2 separate regions of the Homo sapiens genome follow, and region 2 is linked to region 1. Evidence: promoter capture Hi-C in 16 types of primary human blood cells and fetal thymus (Javierre and others, 2016). All regions are on one chromosome and are shown on one strand. The core of a region is centred on a gene start or on the middle of the fragment in contact, and the rest is flanking DNA. Distances in the headings are between cores, read along the strand shown. Region 1 holds the start of NDUFB8 (NADH:ubiquinone oxidoreductase subunit B8). Region 2 overlaps PKD2L1 (polycystin 2 like 1, transient receptor potential cation channel).

The links. Contacts are between HindIII fragments. The CHiCAGO score rates a contact against its expected background, and 5 or more counts as called.
Region 2: a fragment that was not itself captured here is called in contact with the fragment with the promoter of NDUFB8 in region 1 in 4 of 17 cell types (naive CD4 T cells, naive CD8 T cells, activated CD4 T cells and 1 more); the score reaches 8.9 in naive CD4 T cells.

The regions. Positions count from the first base shown.
Region 1 is chr10:100,528,217-100,531,287 of GRCh38, reverse strand. NDUFB8 (NADH:ubiquinone oxidoreductase subunit B8) reads left to right here and starts at 1,417. Exons shown (of 5, transcript NM_005004.4): 1 at 1,417-1,521; 2 at 1,782-1,908. The coding sequence starts at 1,437. RefSeq lists enhancers at 945-994, 1,128-1,710, 2,553-2,722. The HindIII fragment of the contact is 5,505 bases long and covers 1-3,071 here.
Region 2 is chr10:100,322,099-100,325,169 of GRCh38, reverse strand. All of the region lies in intron 2 of PKD2L1 (polycystin 2 like 1, transient receptor potential cation channel), which reads left to right. Among named protein-coding and RNA genes, the nearest start is that of PKD2L1, 6.6 kb to the left of the region's middle. The HindIII fragment of the contact is 7,904 bases long and covers 1-3,071 here.

The sequences.
Region 1 (3,071 bases), core at 168-2,667:
GTGATTCTCTTGCCTCAGCCTCCTGAGTAGCTGGGATTACAAGTGTACACCACCATGCCCAGCTATTTTTGTATTTTTAGTAGAGATGGGTTTTTGCTGTGTTGGCCAGGCTGGTCTTGAACTCCTAACCTCAAGTAATCTTCCCACCTCAGCCTCCCAAAGTGCTGGGATTACAGGCGTGAGCCACCGCACCCGGCCTAAAAGGGTGAATTTATGGTATGTGAATAATATCTTAATAAAAATAAATAAATTAGATCAACTCTGTTTCTTGACCTAAATTGGATCAGGGTTTGCTATTGGTTGAATGCAGATGTTGTGCAATTATTCTGAACATCAACTAGTGATGTCATTTACAAGACAGCAAGTTGCTGTGTAGTCCTTCCCAAAATTTATATATTAAATAGTATATATCCATATTTGTTTACTTTTTATAACTTAAAAAAAAAGAGACGAAGTCTCACTATGTCACCCAGGCTGGTCTCAAACTCCTGGTCTCCAGCCATTCTCCAACCTAGGCCTCCCAAAGTGTTGGGATTACAGGTGTGAGCCACAGCTCCCAGCTTATATGCATTTTTATTGCTCTGATATATACTTGAGAATGTTTATAATAATAGGTTCTGCTCCAAAACAGTGGTCACCTGAAAAGTCACTGGAAATACGTGCATATTTATAATGTGTAAGTTATTCAAATCCCAAGTGAAAACATTCATATGCAAACATAATAATGTCTCCAATTCTTCTGTTGAGTTAGTTTGTTCATTATGGGCCGGTTTGTAATTTGTTTTATCCAAGTCCTACCAACTCTGAGGCTTTAAGCTGTCTCTGGAGAGCTGCCTCTGGTGATAAGTTTAATTTTACATTTGTTGGGTTGAGGTGACTGAGACATGCAGATGGAAACACGGACTGAAACTAAGGAGCCAATTCAGGGCCGAATTGTGTGTTGCACTGGCGTCTAAGTGAAGATCAACCCATTTGGAGAACAGAACAACAAGCAAGACCAACAGGTGAATTTGAAGAATGATCATGTTTGGGGATGGAAGGAAGTGCCCGTGAAGGAGAGGAAAGCAAGCAGCCAGAGAAGAGAGTAAGACAGGCTCATTTCACTAGTACAGCTCCTGGGGGAGGTGGTTAAGCTGTCTACCTGAGTTGCTCAGGTTCCGAGTTCCCATCATCCCTGGATGGGTCTAAGTCAGCTCAGGGAGAAAAAGGACACAACATTCTGAAATGTCAGAGACCTGCCTGGTTTTCCCTTCTTCCCGCTTATCCTTCCCAGCCTCTATCCAACCCTTGGCTTCCCAACTGCGTATTTAAACCCCGCCCCTGTTGAACCCTTCGGCTTTTCTTCACTCCCGGCTTCCTCCGTCACGTTTGGCCCGGCTCAGCCGCCGTGACAGGCCTTTGCGCATGTGCAGAAGGGAAACGTGAAGAAGGTGAAGATGGCGGTGGCCAGGGCCGGGGTCTTGGGAGTCCAGTGGCTGCAAAGGGCATCCCGGAACGTGATGCCGCTGGGCGCACGGACAGGTCCGCGAGAACGGGCGAGACCTCAGTGTGGGAAGGGGGTACCTGAAATTTGGTGTATCGGGAGGGGGGATCGTAGATGCCGCGGCGGCAGCCTCCGGGTAGGGAGTGGAGGTGGCGTTGATATATCCAGAAAATGGGGTGGAGGATCGCACTGATCCTGCGAAGTCCCGGGCTCGGACCTCTGCAGCCCCTGCGACTTGAAGCCTTCGGAGCGGCTGGAGAGCGGGCTCGCTTCTGACCTGTTCTCTTCTGCGTTCTAGCCTCCCACATGACCAAGGACATGTTCCCGGGGCCCTATCCTAGGACCCCAGAAGAACGGGCCGCCGCCGCCAAGAAGTATAATATGCGTGTGGAAGACTACGAACCTTACCCGGATGATGGCATGGGGTGAGACAGAGAGGGTATGCTCGCACCCAAGTAGTGATGGGAGAAGGCCGGCTGGGTTGGGTGGCTTGACTGTGACCCTTTTTCCCGAACCTTCTCGTGACCCCTCAGAGTCAATGGAGTGGGTGCTTTTCTCTGTGGAGGGAGGTGGGAGGGGGGTGGGTGAGCAGCTGCAGCTGAGAGGACTTCAATTTTCTCCTTGGCTCAGGCTGTTTCCTCAAATGAGGAAGCCGAGGTTTTAATGGCTCCCTCGAGGACCCCCGAATAGCAGGAGCCTTCCTTGGCTCTATCCAGAGCGTCGAGTTTCATTTAGATTGAGCATCTGCTGCGCTCAGGTGCTGTCATCCAGGCATGTGACCAGGCTGGAGCTGGACTCCTGTCATGAGAATCTTATTTGTAAACGGAGTACTCTATATTTGTGTGTATGTCTCTTTAAAAAAAATGTTTTTCTGTTAGTGCTGTGGAAATCGTAGCAACTATTAAGCAGATTAAACAGCCAGCCCCCTTACGTACTCCAGTTGATGTTATCCTATCCCTTCCACACTCTTCCGTATCCATACCCACATAACATCCCAATGGTTAATTATCTGAAGTGATTATCATCGCCTTTATTTCCTGTCCTAATGTCACTCTTTCAATCTTGGTTTCAGCAACTTCTATTCTTCTTGTTATACACTCATTTTCTGTAGCATATGTCTAGTTGTCATCATTTCCTGTTTTTTCTTATGTTGTGGACAAGAGCAGCCTTGTTCGAAGCCAGTGTCAGATGAACCTGGATTTGTTGGGGAAAACCCAGCTTAGCAAGAGGTCCCATGAGGTGTTTGAGACGCAGAGATGAATGCCAACTGGGTGGTCAAGAACACAGTTATTACGAGAAGAGTGCTTTTCTAATCTGTACCCTTTTTGTTTTTATTCCAATTAGCTGGGTGACTTTGGATTCAGACTCTAAACTTTAATTTTTCATTTTCTATCTAATGAGGGAATCAGAGTACAGTCATATGTCACTTAACAACAGGGATACATTCTGAGAAATGGGTTGTTAGGTTATCTCCTCATTGTATGAACATTAGGAGTGTACTTACAGAAACCTAGATGGTATGGCCTGCTACACACCTCGGCTTTATGGTATGGCCTGTTGCTCTGAGGCCACAAACCTGTACAGCATA
Region 2 (3,071 bases), core at 401-2,900, 210 kb after region 1:
AAGCAAATGTAGAGTCTGTCTGCAGTATCGGAATTGGGAGTGATTAGGAAGAAAATGTCTAAAGAGACTTTTGGGGAGACGGATAATGCAAAAAAGGTTAAGAAACACTGAACCAGATCCACTTAATTTGGCTAGTCAGTATGCTGACTGAGCTCTCCTGCCTAAGGATTGGGAATACACGTTATAAGCCTGAAAGCTGGCACCAAGCGGGGTGGCTGTTGTGTTGCTCTATCAGGATGCTGTTTTCTAAGAACTGGAGTGACGTGCAGTTGGACATGCAGCTGTGCCAGTGTGCTTTTCCATGTCAGTTCCCATGACCGGGTTCAAATGCTCCAGGACCTGTGTTTATTATTAGGTAAACACAGTGGCATGATGAAAACATAAAAACATTGGAGTCAGACACACTGGATTCAAATACTAGCTCCTCTACTTCCTGGCTTTGTGACCTTGAACAATTGTTCTACCAATAAGGATAATAACATTTATCTTCTGGAGATAACATGCATAAAGAACCAAACACAATCACTGGTAGTAGTTATCTTTGTATTATCTAGTCGAAAATCAAAACCCTCACCTGGTCCTCTAGACTGTTCATTAAAAAAATACCTTTCAAGAGAGAAGCCAATCTGAAAAGGTTACATACTGTGTAATTCCAACTATATGCCATGGTGGAAAAGACAGAACTATGGAGATACTAAAAGTTGTCAGTGGCTTCCAGGGGTTGGGGAAAGAGAAGGACGAATAGGTAAAGCACAGAGGATTTTTAGGGCAGTGAAACTACTCTGTATGGTGAATACCTGTCATTTTACGTAAAACCCACACAATGTACAATACCAAGAGTAAAACCTAAGGTACACTGTGGACTTCAGGTAATAGTCATGTGTCAATGTAGGTCCATTGTATAACAAAGGTACCACCCTGGTGTTGGATGTTGATAGCAGGGGAGGCTGTACTTATGTGAGGACAGGGGATCTATGGGAAATCTCTGCACCTTTCATTCAATTTTGCTGTGAACCTAAAATTACTCTAAAAAAATAAAGTGGGCTGGGCACGGTGGCTCATGCCTGTAATCCCAGCACTTTGGGAGACTGAACTGGACAGACTGCCTGAGGCCAGGAGTTCGAGACCAGCCTGGCCAACATGGTGAAACCCCATCTCTATTAAAAATACAAAAATTAGCCAGGCGTGATGGCGGGCACCTGTAATCCCAGCTACTCAGGAGGCTGAGACAGGAGAATCACTTGAACCTGGGAGGCGGAGGTTGCAGTGAGCTGAGATCATGCCACTGCCCTCCAGACTGGGTGACAGAGAAAGACTCTGTCTCAAAAAATAAATAAATAAATAAATAAAGTTTATCTTAAAAAGTGTATTAAAAACAACTTTTCAGTGCTGCTTGTGGAAACTTGGAAAAAATAACTTTCATGATTGCAGTTAATAATAATGTATTATATCTTTCAAAATAGCTAAAAGAGATGATTTTAAATATTCTCAACACAAAGAAACATTTGAGATGATGGATATGTTAATTAGCCTGATTTGATCATTCCATGATGTATACATCTGAAGAAACATTACATTGCACCCCATAAAGATACAGAGTGAGCCGGGCGCCGTGGCTCATGCCTGTAATCCCAGAACTTCGGCAGACCGAGGCGGGTGGACCACCTGAGATCAGGAGTTCGAGACCAGCCTGGCCAACATGGCAAAACCCCTACTCTACTAAAAATACAAAAATTAGTCGCGTGTGGTGGCACGCTCCTGTAGTCCCAGCTACTCAGGAAGCTGAGGCAAGAGAATCGCTTGAACCTGGGAGGTGGAGGTTGCAGTGAGCCGAGATCGTGCCACTGTACTCCAGCCTGGGCGACAGAGCGAGACTCCATCTCAAAAATAAAATAAAATAAAAGCCGTGATTATTTGTCAATTAAAAGTAAATCAATAAATAACATAAAATTACCTTTCAAAATTTTAGTTGGCTCCACATATAGGGATAGTATTATTTGAGTAGCATCCTTTAAGTGACATCAGACCTTTAAGTGAAAGTACTTTCCCTGGAAGCCCTCAGTTTATCACAACCGCCACCACCACCATCATCATTATTAACAGCACAAACAACAAACCTTTATTGAATAATTTTTCAATGCACCTAGCACTATATTATGTACTTTATCTCACTGACTACTTCCAATGACTCTATGAAATTGGTTCTGCCTATCACTCCCATTTTACAAATCAGAAAGATTTAGAAAAGTCAAACAGCTTGCTCAAGGCCACTCATGCAAGCAAGTGAAGAAAGAGGAATCCAACTCAGCAATTGGTTGCCTGATTTGAATCCCGAGGCTTTTAACCACTGGAGTCTACTATGGCCTCTCTATCTGGAAATGTATTGCTCATAAATTTACTAATACCCATCAACATCTTAGCAAGGACCACTCCGTGCCCTACCCTAATAGAAGCAGAGTATTGAGAAATTCTACTAGCTAACTACTATTCTTTCTTTTTATTGGTGTATTTAAAAGATGATATAAAAACATTAAAGAATATTTTAAAATATAGTTGGCTACCACTACATTAAAGAATTTTTCATTTTTCTTATTACCGGTGTTTATGCATACATTCTTACCTAGTTGTATTATATTGTATACTTTCATCATTTATAACATTTCATCATATTTCTAAGTAGTTTTTTTTTTTTGAGACAGAGTCTGGTTCTTTCACCCAGGCTGGAGTGCAGTGTCCTGCCTCAGCCTCCCGTGTACCTGGGATTACAGGCGCCCACGACCATGCCCGGCTAATTTTTGTATTTTTAGTAGAGACGGGGTTTCACCGTGTTGCCCAGGCTGGTCTGGAACTCCTGACCTCAAGTGATCGGCCCACCTCGGCCTCCCAAAATGTTGGGATTACAGGCGTGAGCCACCGTAGTTTTTGTTTTTGTTGTTGTTGTTGTTGTTTTGAGACCGGGCCTTGCTCTGTTGCTCAGGCTGTTATGCGGTGGTGTAACCTCAGCTCACTCCAGCCTCAAACTCTCAGGTGAGCCTCCCACCTCAGCCCTAAAAGTAACTGGGTCTACAGGC